Regions from separate parts of the Homo sapiens genome. Here regions 1, 3 and 4 are each linked to region 2. The links are contacts of gene promoters, found by promoter capture Hi-C in human tissues and cell types (Jung and others, 2019). All regions are on one chromosome and are shown on one strand. Each heading gives the region's core, a stretch centred on a gene start or on the middle of the fragment in contact. The rest is flanking DNA. Distances are from core to core; before and after follow the strand shown.

Region 1 (3,181 bases), core at 131-2,630, 190 kb after region 2:
TTCATTAGGTGTGCTCCAGCCACACCTCCCGCCTTCCAACACTGTGTGCCGTGGCAGCCTCTCTGCCTTTTGACATACTGGCTGTCCCCTGAAACTCTGCCTGGAATGACCCTGGCAAACTTCTCCTCTAGCTCAACCTTCAAGAATCAGCTCACCTGCTGCTTAGCATCTCCTCCCCACGACTCCTAAGACGCCCTCCTTAACACCCACCCCTTCCCAGAATCCCATGCCCACCCAGATGGGTTCCCTGCCAGCGACGACACAGCTTCCTCCAGATAAAAACGACCTACTTGTCTTATGCCCCAGGTCCCTAGGCCCTGACAGCAGGGACCGTCTCATCTCTATTTCCAGTGTCAATTCCTGGAGCCTATCAGGCATTCAAAAACAAAATGTTAGTTCCTTGAATGAAAAAATTAAGGAGGAGACAACCTAAAAGCGTCCCCATGTGCCCTAACTCGCTCCCTCCCCGGTTCGGCCGCCCTCGGCCACCTCAGGTCTCCTGCTCTATAGACTGTCCTGTGGGGCCACCTGAGTCTCAGCAGAACATTAAAACTTAAACCCGGCCCTGCACCTGCAGGCGCGGGGACCACAGCTTAGGAGGTGGTCGTCGGGCGCGCTGTTACCGTCTTAAGTTATCACCAGACCTGGGAACACTTCCACCCACGCCCCGCAGGTCCAGGGACCTCAAGTTGGAGAAACCTAGCCCTGAGATCAGGTCGGAGAGGGAGCCTCAGGGTGGGCGGCACGGGGACCCGGGGTCTCGCGGGGCTAAGGACACTGGGAACCACGGCTCCCCACAGGAAGATGCCCCGGGCCTGGGGGCTTCTGAGGAGGTTGCTGGAAGCAAGTCCCAAGGGAACCTCGAGAGTTTCCGGAACCAACAGTTCTCAGGGCCCACTAGCGGCCGGGGTCCTCAGGGGGTCTCGGAGTCCAGAGAAAATCTTGGAGTTTCGGGGTTCGCGGGCCTGGAGGGGCAGGGCGGATCCTGAGGGGGTCTCGGGGGCAGGGGCTCCAGGGGAAGAGCTGAGAGGGAGTCCTGGGGTGGCCCCGGGGCCGGGGCGGATCCTGAGGATCTCGGGGTCCCCAGGGGCTCCGGATGCAGGGACCGCGGGCCCGCCCCGCCCCCTCACCTGCGGCGCCTCCGAGACGCTGGTCCCAGCTCGCGCTGCCACCTCTTCGCCTCCGCAGCCGGCTACGCCTCCGGGGTCTCTCGGCGGCCGCGCACCCCTGACGCTGGGCGGGGCAAGGGGATGGTTCTCGGGGAGGGGACTGCGCAGGCACGCGGGCTAGAAGCGAGAGCGAGAGCCGGAGTCGGAGCCAGAGCGGACGCCACGCCGCCTCCAGGCGCCCCTCCGCGTTAGCCGGCAGCGGCGCCGCCGCAAACCCTTCCCCCGCGCGCCCGCCCCAGCCGCGTGAACGTTCCGTCCCGAAACCAACGGCCCCGCGGTCCCCGGAGGCCCCGCCCCGGGGAAGGGCGAAGCCAGGACGCGCGCCCCGCCCCGCCCCGCCGCCAGATCCTCTGGCACCGCCCACCTCGGTGACCACGGTCCCGCCCACCGGGGAGGCCACGCCCCCGGGGTCTCCAGCGCAGGCGCGGTCGGATGTGCGGGGGAGGGCTTGCGCTGGGGAGCGCTTGGGCCTAGAGTCCGCGTCCTAGCCCTACCTGGCCCGGCGAGCCGCGCGTCCCGTTTCCTCATTTGCAGAAAGGGGGCGGGAGCACTTTGCAGGGACGTGGCGAGCATCAAGTGCGATCGGAAGCGCTCCTTTGCAACTGCATCCTGCACCACACTTAGGCACAGCTTCTGTCCCCAACCCAGACCTGAGGCTGGTCTCCGTCCCCCAGCAGACTCCTGCCCGCTTAAATTGGCCAGTCACCAGCCCTACCTTCTTTCTTTTTCAGAGTACTTGTCACTCTCCGAAATTAGGTACGCTTGTGACTGGCTCCCACTTCCCCTGAGAGCCGGTACCTTGTCCGTCTTGTCCACTGGGGGTTCCCAGAAGCCAGCACGGCGCTGGGCACACCATGGCCGCCCACATGTTTGTGCGTGCGTGAGTGTCTTCCCCGCGCTCTTCCCTCATCAAGAAATACTCTTCCCCGAGGCTGAGAATTTCTCCTAAAAATACAAGAAATACTCTTCCCCAGCTTAGGTTCGATCCGGCGAGGCCCCCTGACTCCTCGCGCATCCCTGTCGCAGGTGCCGCGTCCGTAAAGGGTGTGATCCTAGCACCTACCTTGTGGGTATTGCGAGGACTGAGATTGTGCGTGGGTGGGCTGGGCACGGGCCCCCTAGCGATCTTATTACTCCTCCTTTGTCTGCCACTGAAGTCTTTTACCTAAACAAGACCCAATCCACTTCCTCTTCCCAGCCTGCCCTGCCCAACCTGGAGTCATTTATTACTTCCTGTCTCCTTGGCACCTTTTTTTCCTGCCTGATTTTAAAGTTGGCTGTTAATATCTCCCCCTACCCTAGCCCACCAGAAAGCTCTCATTTTGTGACAGAAGGTAGTGTTGTGTTAGCGGCCTGTGAAATTTTAGGGGGGGCCAGAGCCCAGAAAACAGTGGGAGCAGTGACTCTGGGATGAAGAGGGCAGCCCCTGGGTGCTCTGTATGTGGGGTCAGGCACTCCCTGAGCACTTTGCATGCGTTCCTTCATGGTGTTCTTGGAACAACCCTATGAGGAAGGCGTCTTCATTGTTATTCCAGTTTAACAAGGGGAAGCTCAGGCCCAAGAGGTTGTGTAGTTCCATGCCTCAGCCCACACATGTAACCACCACTGCATACAGCTCCCCAACCCCTGGAGGTGCGACTTAAATGCAAAAAAAGGCCGGTGGCTCACGCCTGTAATCTCAGCACTTTGGGAGGCTGAGGCAGGTGGATCACCTGAAGTCAGCAGTTCCAGACCAGCCTGGGCAACCTGGCAAAACCTCATCTCTACTGAAAATACAAAAATTAGCCGGGCGTGGTGGCGGACACCTGTAATCCCAGCTACTCGGGAGGCTGAGGCAGGAGAATCACTTGAACCCGGGTGGCAGAGGCAGCAGTGAGCTGAGATCATGCCACTTCACTCCAGCCCGGGCAACAGAGCGAGACTCTGTCTCAAAAAAAATTTTTTTTAATGCAAAAGATATATAATTCAGTTCATGAACACCTGCTCCTGTACTGGGTGCTGAAGCCCGAGAC
Region 2 (3,088 bases), core at 569-3,068:
CGCAAACCGCAGACAGAAAAGAACAGTGAGAGGGAACGCAGAGACTCCGGGGCCAGGGAGAGTTTTACCACGCCTTCTCTCAGGCCCTCAGCTTCCTCATCGACACAATCGGGGCCTCTGAGGCTCCTTCCTTTTCTAACAGGAGTCTCGGATGTCCCACCCACCCATCACCCAGGGCCCCTCGGGGTTTTCCCTCCAGCTGGCAGCCACCCGGCCTGCTGCTTGCTGGAATGCCCTCTTCCCGCGCTCCCCTTACATCAAGCTCCATCTCTTCTAAAGAGCCTCCAGGGAGCCCCCAGGGGCTGCGAAGGCTCCTGGTGCCAACACTGAGCTCTGCGCCTCCCCACACCATCTCCAACCCCACGAGGTGCCCAGGCCGTGCCCAGCACCGCCTGAACAATCAGAGCTCCACAGGGCTCTGCTGCAGCCAGCCAGTCAAGAAAGCTCTGTAGAGCTCAGCTCCCAGCCTCCCCTCCCCCTCCAGCCCCCTTCAGCCCCCTTCCTGGAATCCCCCAGTGAGCATTAGTTGGGACAAGCGACCTTTTGACTAACAAAGGCGGTCACCAGAGGTTAAAAGGAACTCAACTAAACCAGGGATTAAGACTCGGATTCTGAGGGTGGTCTAGGGCACTCCCCTGGACCTGGGCCACTGGAGAAACAAAGACGCCAGGAGTGCCGGGCCTGGCTAGTGGCTCTGAGAAGCCACGGGTCAGCAGAGAGGTCACAGGTCATAGCTCTGCCGCCCAGCAGCTGCTCTGATCAGAGGACCTCGTGGCAGTCCCCCCAGGGACCAGGCCTTGAGGGTTAGAGGGGAGAAAAGCGCGGGCTGGGTGGGCACTGTCCCGGAGCTGTCAGTCCCAGAGTTGGGGCCTAAGGTCTGGGCCATCGATCAGATCTGCTCTTGGAAAACTCCATCCCCCTTGCCGTTGGTGGAAGTGACCAGTCCCCAGTCCCCGCTGAGCACCGAGCCCGGCAGAACCACTGCCTTGGGCCCTCTGTCCCGGGAGGGAGGCAGGGAGGAGGTGGCCAGGTCCGCATCCCCTCCATCCTCCCAGCTACGCCCCAAAAACCTCCAGGCTGCTCCCTGGCTTTCTCATTTCTTCCTCTCCAGCCCCTATCCCAGGACCGCTAGTGTCTCCTGGGGAAAAGACTGCTTCCCACCCTCCAGGCTCAAGTTTCACATCCGCAAGCTGGGTACAACAGCTCCTACCTGGGGGTGGAGGCGGGAAGCGGTGAGGAAAGATAGCCGAGGGCGCTTCCAGCGTCAAGTGCAAGGCGCCCTGGGCTCGGTAACCCCCAGCCAGCGTCCCCCAGCCCAGCTAGCGCCCCTGAACCCCCAGGGCCCGGGATGCGGCCCCCGGAGCCGGCTGGATTTGCTAGGACTGGGGTAGGACGGTGTGTTTGAGGGGTGGGGGAATCCGGTTTTGAAACAAGTCCCCAGGCCGGGGAGGAGATGAGGACCGGAGCTGGCCGTGGGGGAGGGGGGCGTCGCCGAGGCCTCGGCGCTGACAGTCCGGGGGCGCCGCGCAGGGCAACGCACGGACTCCGAGTCCCCGTGGTTCCGAAACTCGCAGGGAGCGCGAGGCCGAGGGGGTCGGGACCCTAAGCTGGGGCGGCGGACCCGGGACGCCCCTACCTCCGGCCGCCAGCAGCGCAAGGCCGCCGAGCAGCAGCAGCGGAAGCGGGACCCGGCGCGACGGCGCGGCGCGCTCCATGGGCGGCGGGCGACGGGCGGTGGGCGGCGGCGGACAAAGGCGCGGGCGCGGTCCTGGGGCAGCGGCGCGGGCTCCACGCTCCGGCCGAGCCTCGGCAGCCAACGCTGGGCCAGGGCCGCGCCGTTCAATTATCCCGCCCGGGAGGAGGGCGCGGCGGAGGCGGGGCCGCGGGTCTCCTGGTCCTCCCTCCCCGGCGCCCCCTGCCGGGACCCTCCCTCCCCGGACCCCGGCTGCGAGGGGCGCGCGCCCACGGCTGGGGGCGAGGGCCTGGATCCCAGACTTCCCCGGAGGGGGCACAGAGGGGGCGCCTTCGGGCCGGATGCCCCCAGTCCTATCCCCCAACACTCCGTGAAACCCGATCCCCTCCTCCCCCCACCCCCTCTCGAGGGGAGGGCTCGGGATCAAAGGTTATCCCCGCCCGACTCCGCGCGGAGGAGCGGGGACCCGGGCCTGCAGTCGGAGGCCCGGCTGCTGGGGGGCACTGGGGCAGGCCTTACCGCCAACCCCGCACCCTCGGCCGGGAGGCTGCAGGTCGGTGGCTAACCCCAGGCGTGTCCCGGGATGGGACCCGACTCTGCCCTCAGAGACAGGGACAGTCGGGCCAGGCCAACAAACAACCAAAATCCCAACGTGTGCTGGGCTCACCCGGGACACCAGGGCCGGAGGGAGAGACCCGGGAAGTCACCGAGGCTGCAGGGGAGGCAGCTTTGGCGCTGGGCCTGCGGGAGCCTCTTGTATAGGAATTCATAGCTACCGGGGTTACTGAGGATGAGTTAGGCTTTGGAACCACAAGTAGATTTATTTTCCAAAGAAGAAGAATAAAATGGTGCAGGTGAAGATGCGGAGGAACTGGATGAGACGCATAGGAACGCCACTGGGCAGCTCAAAGCGGTGTTCCTGTGAGTTCACCATGGACCCCTTGAGCCACCGACGCCCCGCCCAGCCTTACACTCAGCAGAAACGCATACAACATGTGCTCCAAAAGACAGAAAGACATGTAGCCGCACATTCATAATTCCTCCAATTGGGAAGCCTAGCGTCATCAAGGCAGATGAATATCGTGGAGTATTCGGGCTTAGGAGCACGACAAACGGAACAGGAGTGAATGATCCGCAACTCACATAACGGGTAAATCTCACAGACGTAAGTCAGAGTAATAGAGTCAGCCACAAAGGAACACTCGCTGCATGATTCCATTTACATAAAAGGCAAGAACAGGCCGGTGGCGGTGGCTCACACCTGTAATCCCAGCACTTTGGGAGGATGAAGTGGGCGGATTGCCTGAGGTCAGGAGTTCGAAACCAGCCTGGCCAACATGGTGAAACCCTGTCTCTACTAAAAATAAAAATAAAAATAAATTAGCCAGGCATGGT
Region 3 (3,441 bases), core at 827-3,326, 140 kb before region 2:
TCTCATTGCTCCCCAGATGTCTGTTTCTGCCCCCAAGCATAGCCCATGCCTTGCCCCGCACCTGGGAGGCTCTCTAGCCTCTCCCCGTGGGCCCTGCCAAGGCCTCCCTCCAATGCAATGCGAGTTGCCACTGCCCTCAGGCCCTCTCCAAGTTAGAACCCCACACCCAGCCCACATTTACCCTGTGCGTGGACACACACCTCCTTGCTTTCTTTACCTTTATGATGAGCGCAGTGATTGGTTTTGAACACGTTTCCTCGTCAGGGTTGTGTATGTTGTAAAGCTGTCTTGTGGCCGGGCGCGGTGTGGTGTAGGGTGTTAAAGTGGGGAGATACTCGCTCACAACCTGGAGCGTGAGAGGGCGACAGGCAGGGGACCGCAGAAGGGAAGGGGGGCGCATTGCGGAGGCGGGGGCGGGGCGGAAAGAGGCCAGGGGCCGTTCAGCAGGTTAGCATGGAGCAGGGTGAGACAGTGCTGGAGGAGGAAACGCGCCCGGCGAGGAGCCGCCGCGTCCCGGCCCTGCCAGCCGCCATTCGAGGCCGCGCACCGCCACCTGCTGGGCGCCCGGGGAGGTGCCGCCTAGCCGCACGTGGGTCCCAGGGCAGGCGCCACGCAGCAGCGGAGTCCACCTGGGCAGGTGCGGATCCCCGGGCTCGCCTCCCCACCTCGGAGGGAAGAGCCTGACTGAGGACTCTGGGTCCCAGTCCCAGCTCAGACACCGGCTGAGAGGCTTCCGTGACGGTCAGGTCGGGAGAGGGCTCTCCTGCCTGCCGCACGTCCTGTGAGTCCGTTTGTTCCTCTGCCGGCCCCAGCCCCACCGCAAGCCCCCTGCCTCCGCTGCTCTGCCCACCCTCCCTGGGCACTGGAGTGGGCCCTGAGGAACGGCAGAGGCCCATCTGCAAAGCTCTGAATACCTCTCCCAACCGCAGATTAAATGGCACCCACGGAGGCCAAGCTCTCAGCAAGCACCGCGCTTGACTGCTCCTCTGGGTGCCCAGAAGACCATCGGTCGGTCTGTTCTTCCGAGGAAAGAGGCCCGGACCTTGATTCAGGATCCTCGCCCGGTCTAAACATACACACTTTGGGGACTGGGAGCTGAGCGGTTCTTCTAGAAAGGTCTCCTTGTTCCTTAGTCAAAATACAGGTTTGCCCCGTTTGTTCTTGCTCAGCCTTCTGAAACAATCAGAATAACTTTTTTCGTACGATGCCTACAAACAGCTTTAATGTTCCCTGTAAATATTCATTCCGAGCTAAGTGTGCCCAACTTCCTGCATTCTTTAGAGCAGTGGACAATTTCAACCGAGGACGATTTTGCCCTGCAGGGGACATTTGGCAATGTCTGGAGAACTTTTGGTGATCTACCCGGAGGAGGGAGACCACTCCTGGCGTCTGGTGGGGAGAGGCCCCCGTGCTGCTAAGCATCCTAAGGTACATGGCGTAGCACCTCCATCCCGCCACACGCACAACAAAGAATTGTCCCACCCAAAAGTCAACAGTGCTGAGGTTGAGAAGTCCTGCTTGAGAGTTCTGAGGTTTTTTTGGTTTTTTTGTTTGTTTTTGAGACGGAATCTCGCTCTATCACCCAGGCCGGAGTGCAGTGGTGCAATCTCAGCTCACTGCAACCTGTGCCTCCCAGGTTCAGGCAATTCTCCTGTCTCGGCCTCCCGAGCAGCTGGGATTACGGGCATGCGCCACCACCCCCGGCTAATTTTTGTATTTTTAGTAGAGTGGGGGTTTCACCATGTTGGCCAGGCTGGTCTCGAACTCCTGGGCTCAAGTGATCTGCCCACCTCGGCCTCCCAAAGCGCTGGGATTACAGGCTTGAGCCATCGCAACCGGCCTCTGCTTGAGAGTTCTGAGTCTTCTCAAGGTTCTGGTCCCTTCTGTAGATACTCTTCATGCATTCATGTTTCTATCGCCACGGGGTACCAACTCCAGGCCAGCTCCCACCAGCCTGGACATCGTAAGTTCTAGACACCAGGCGTCTCTCAGTGGAGCCTAACAATTACATCAGCCTTCTTAGCAATGCTTTGCTCATATGATCAGTATATCTTTTTTTTTTTTTTCCGAGATGGAGTCTCACTCTGTCACCCAGGCTAGAGTGCAGTGGCGGGATCTCAGCTCACTGCAACCTTTGCTTCCCAGGTTCAAGTGATTCTCCTGCCTCAGCCTCCCGAGTAGCTAGGATTACAGGCGCATCCCTCCATGCCTGGCTAATTTTTTGTATTTTTAGTAGAGACAAGGTTTCACCATGCTGGCCAGGCTGGTCTCAAACTCCTGACCTCGTGATCTGCCCCCTCCTCGGCCTCCCAAAGTGCTGGGATTACAGGCGTGAGCCACCGCGCCCGGCCGATCTGTATGTCTTTAATCAGTGTTACGGGCCAGGTGCGGTGGCTCATGCCTGGAATCCTAACATTTTAGGAGGCCAAGGTGGGCAGATTGCTTGAGCCCAGGAGTTCAAGAGCAGCTTGCACAACATGGTGAAACCCCATCTCTATGAAAAATTAGCTGGGCATGGTGATGTACACCTGTAGTCCCAGCTACTTGGGCGGCTAAGGTGGGAGGATCGCTTGAGCCTGGGAGGTCAAGGTCGCAGTGAGTCATGATAGCGCCACTGCACTCCAGCCTGGGCGACAGAGCGAGACCTGTCTCAAAAAAAAAAAAAAAAAAAAAAAAAAAAATCAGTGTTTTGAACAGAGAACTTAGAGGCTTAAATATGCATGTGATTAAATAAAAGACATATATTACCTAGAAAAAACAGGTATTATTCTCACACAGAAAAACGTTGGGTAAAATAAACATTCCTATTGGATGGATTCAATTTTAAATGATTCCTCTTATACAAATTTTGTTTCAACCATTCCTCTTAACAAAGAAATGGCGAAGCCCTCCTAAAGCCCTCCAGAACAGACTGAACAAAGGAAAAAAGATGCTTGTCAACTCAAATATGAAAGGCCTGCTCCAAGCTCCCCTAATTATATCTTGGAAGGGAAGCTTTGTCCTATTGACATTCGGGATCATTTTTCACAAGCTCAGGTTACTCCCTTGAAGATTTTTAGGAAGTTTCATGATATGGAGACATTGTTGAAAAATTGGCTGCTTGACTTCTGCCAGCAATCAGATACAGAGATCAAATCTGTTTCTGCCCACTTAGCTTAGAGCATTTCTGGTTATCTTGGGCAAAATGAGTTTGCAACTTTTAACTCAGACTTCTAAGAAGTCAGACGGTTTCACCCACTTTTTGTGTGTGTGGTTTTTTTTTTTACAAAGGATCTCTGAGGAAACTTGGCTGAAGGTGTGGGTTGATCTCTAATATCTGACATATTCTGCATTTGTAAATACCAGAGTACTTAAGAAGCAACAAAAATGGTTTTTATTTTATAAAGTGGAAGAAAAGATCCGAGGAAATACAACTCCTTTCATCAGACCCTTAGATCTTTC
Region 4 (3,314 bases), core at 184-2,683, 170 kb after region 2:
GTTAGTTATGAATAACATAAGCAGACACACAAAGGTCACAAGTATGTCACAAAAGAAATATCAAGAGTCACATGAAACTACGCTCAACCTTTAGTAACACAAGAAATCAATGTTGAAAATTTCAGCTATCAAATGGACAAGGTGTATTTCATTTTGTTTCTTAATAACACCATGTGTTGGCAAGATACAGGAAATGGATACTCCCACACTCAGCCACTACCGGGAGTGTAACTGGTGCTCCTTCTGGAAAACAATTTGGTAATTTACATCATCAGTCTTTAAAACATTCATACCTTTTGACCATAAAACTCTTCTAGGAATTCATCTTGAAAACAGGACATAAAAGTATGAGGACCCTGTAGTGTTATTTATAACTGTAAATATATGCTAACTGATATAGTCTGGACATTTGTCCCCACGAAAATCTCATGCTGAACTGTGATCCCCAGTGCTGGAGGTGGGGCCTGGTGGGAGGTGCTTGGATCACGGGGCAGGATCATCCCTCATGGCTTCGTGCCATCTTCGTGACAGTGACTTCTTGAGAAATCTGGTCATTTAAAAGCATGTGGCACCACCCCCCTGCCACTCTCTCTGTTGCCATGTGGCATGCCTGCTCCCACTCTGCCTTCTGCCACTATTGGAAACTTCCTGAGGCCTCCCCGGAAGCAGATGCTGCTATGCTTCCTAGACAGCTGTGGAACCGTGAGCCAATTACAGCTCTTTTCTTTATATATTACCCAGTCTCAGGTATTTCTTTTTTTTTTTCTTTTGTTTTTTGAGACAGGGTCTCACTCTCTTGCCCAGGCTGGAGTACAGTGATCTCAGCTCACTGCAACCATCTCCCTCCCAGTTCCAGCTATTCTCCTGCCTCAGCCTCCCAAGTTGCCAGTGTGCCACTTTCCATTATTACTTTTTTTTTTTTAAGAGAAAGGGTCTTACTCTGTCACCCAGGCTGGAATAAGTGGCATGATCATAGCTCATTTCAGTCTGGAACTCCTGGGCTCAAGCAATCCTCCCACCTCGGCCTCCCCAGTAGCGGGGACTGCAGGCAGGCGCCACCATGCCTGGCTACTTTATTAGTAATTCACTGCTACAAAGTGAGAGCAGCTCCCAGGGCACAGAACTCCCCACACCTGCAGGCTGCCCGCAGCCCCAGCCCACACCTTGGTCTTGTCCTTCAAGTCCAGGGACTCCATGGGCTTGTTCTGCCGCCGGCCAAAGGCCTCCCGCACCCCCAGCCCATACCTTGGTCTTGTCCTTCAAGTCCAGGGACTCCATGGGCTTGTTCTGCCGCCGGCCAAAGACCTCCCGCACCCCCAGCCCATACCTTGGTCTTGTCCTTCAAGTCCAGGGACTCCATGGGCTTGTTCTGCCGCCGGCCAAAGACCTCCCGCACCCCCAGCCCATACCTTGGTCTTGTCCTTCAAGTCCAGGGACTCCATGGGCTTGTTCTGCCGCCGGCCAAAGGCCTCCCGCACCCCCAGCCCATACCTTGGTCTTGTCCTTCAAGTCCAGGGACTCCATGGGCTTGTTCTGCCGCCGGCCAAAGGCCTCCAGCAGGTTGTCATAGTTGGTGGTCAGGACCATGGCGCCCCTGTCCATCAGGCTGAGGATCGACTGCAGCACCACAGGACTCCGGATGTGCTGCTCCAGGTCGTCAAACACCTCCATCAGGCAGTCCTGGAAGAAGCTGGGCTTGGCATCGCCTGTGCGCTACAAAAAGGTGGAACGACAGTTACCAAAACATCAGCTCTTAACAACTACTGAGCACCTAAGCAGGCCATTTTCTGGGTGCCAGAGATACAGCGGCTGAAAACAAAGAAAATCTGGCTTCACAGCGTGCGCCGCAACCCCAGAGCAGGGGGACAGGGGATGCTCACGTGTAGCACGCCACCGGTGACGCTGCCACAGGAAAGCACGGCAGAGACGGGGGCAGGCGCTGTCAGGGGAGGTGGACAGGACCAAGACACTAGGCAAGCCTCTCTGAGAAGAGGGCATCTGAACAGGGGCCTGAGGAGGTGAGGGCTCGTGGAGAATGTTCTAAGCAGAGGGAAGAGCAAGGGCCACAGCACTGAGGTCACGGCTCAGGTACGTCCCAGGTCAGCAAGAGGCCACGGAGGCAGGAGAGGAGTGAGGGGAAGAGTCGGCAGCAGAAGCAGATGACCTGGGCCTTGAGGACCACTGTAAAGACTCTGGCTTTCCCTGAGCGCTGCACAGTCCCAGTTTTCTCTTTCTCGGTGGTAATGAAACAGCGTGTCTTCGTGGCACCTTCAATGAGGCGGGAGGCAGTGTTTCTTTTTTCTTTTTCTTTTTTTGAGATAGGGCCTTGCTCTGTCATCCAGGCTGGAGCACAGTGGTGCCAGGATAGCTCACTGCAGCCTCCAACTCCTGGGCCCAAGCGAGCTTGCCACCTAAGCCTCCCAAGTAGCTAGGGCTACAGGTGCCACCACCACACCCAACTCATTATATTTTTTAAAAATTTTTTTAATTTAATTTTTTATATTATTTTATTTCATTTTTCATTTTATTATTTTATTTTTTGAGACAGAGTCTCACTCTGTCACCCAGGCTGGAGTGCAGTGAGTGGCACGATCACGGCCCTCTGCAGCCTTGATCTCCCAGGCTCAAGTGATCCTCCAACCTCAGCCTCCCAAGTAGCTGGGACTATAGGTGCACACACACCATAACACCTAGTTAATTTTTTAACTTTTTTTTTTTTTTTTTTTTTTTGAGACAGAGTCTTGCTCTGTCACCCAGGATGAAATGCAGTGGCGTGATCTTGGCTCACTGCAACCTCCCCTCCTGGTTCAAGCAATTCTCCTGCCTCAGCCTCCCAAGTTGCTGGGACTACAGGTGCGCACCACCACACCCAGCTAATTTTTGTATTTTTAGTAGAGATGGGGTTTCACCATGTTGGCCAGGCTGGTCTCAAACTCCTGACCTCAGGTGATCCACCTGCCTCAGCCTCCCAAAGTGCTGGGATTACAGGCGTGAGCCACTATACCCGGCCTAAATTTTTTTTTATTTTTTGTAGAGACGAGGTCTCGCTATGTTGCCCAGGCTTATCTTGAACTCCTGCCCTCAAGTGATCTGCCCACCTTGGCCTCCCAAAGTGCTGGGATTACAGGCATGAGCCAGCACACCTGGCCCGTAGTGCCGCATATACTCTGAGAGACACAAGAGGATCAGGACTGAGGCCTGGCCTCCGGAAGCAGCCTCAGTGTTTCACCGGTGGCCTTGACAGGAGCTGTCTCCAAGGGGCCTTGACAGCCAAAGCCTGGCTGGGATGGCTTCAAGAGAAAAAGGAAGGGCTG

Evidence for each region. The method cuts DNA at HindIII sites, captures the fragments that hold promoters and counts their contacts. A contact is called where the count stands out against the background at its distance.
Region 1: the fragment with the promoter of FAM118A here is called in contact with the fragment with the promoter of FBLN1 in region 2 in 2 of the 25 tissues and cell types used here (IMR-90 fibroblasts and mesendoderm cells).
Region 3: a contact is called between a fragment that was not itself captured here and the fragment with the promoter of FBLN1 in region 2, in 2 of the 25 tissues and cell types used here (dorsolateral prefrontal cortex and pancreas).
Region 4: a contact is called between a fragment that was not itself captured here and the fragment with the promoter of FBLN1 in region 2, in 1 of the 25 tissues and cell types used here (mesendoderm cells).

What each region holds. Positions count from the first base shown.
Region 1 is chr22:45,308,133-45,311,313 of GRCh38, reverse strand. It overlaps FAM118A (family with sequence similarity 118 member A), which reads right to left and starts at 1,380. Exons shown (of 9, transcript NM_017911.4): 1 at 1,131-1,380. RefSeq lists an enhancer at 1-318 and a silencer at 1,035-1,714. The HindIII fragment of the contact is 15,582 bases long and covers 1-3,181 here.
Region 2 is chr22:45,501,613-45,504,700 of GRCh38, reverse strand. It overlaps FBLN1 (fibulin 1), which reads right to left and starts at 1,818. Exons shown (of 17, transcript NM_006486.3): 1 at 1,637-1,818. The coding sequence starts at 1,715. RefSeq lists enhancers at 1-590, 591-1,204. The HindIII fragment of the contact is 10,534 bases long and covers 1-3,088 here.
Region 3 is chr22:45,642,885-45,646,325 of GRCh38, reverse strand. All of the region lies in intron 1 of LOC105373069 (a long non-coding RNA gene), which reads right to left. Among named protein-coding and RNA genes, the nearest start is that of ATXN10, 27 kb to the left of the region's middle. RefSeq lists silencers at 289-358, 369-658. The HindIII fragment of the contact is 8,115 bases long and covers 1-3,441 here.
Region 4 is chr22:45,326,241-45,329,554 of GRCh38, reverse strand. It overlaps FAM118A (family with sequence similarity 118 member A), which reads right to left. Exons shown (of 9, transcript NM_017911.4): 4 at 1,492-1,713. Among named protein-coding and RNA genes, the nearest start is that of FAM118A, 18 kb to the right of the region's middle. The HindIII fragment of the contact is 9,189 bases long and covers 1-3,314 here.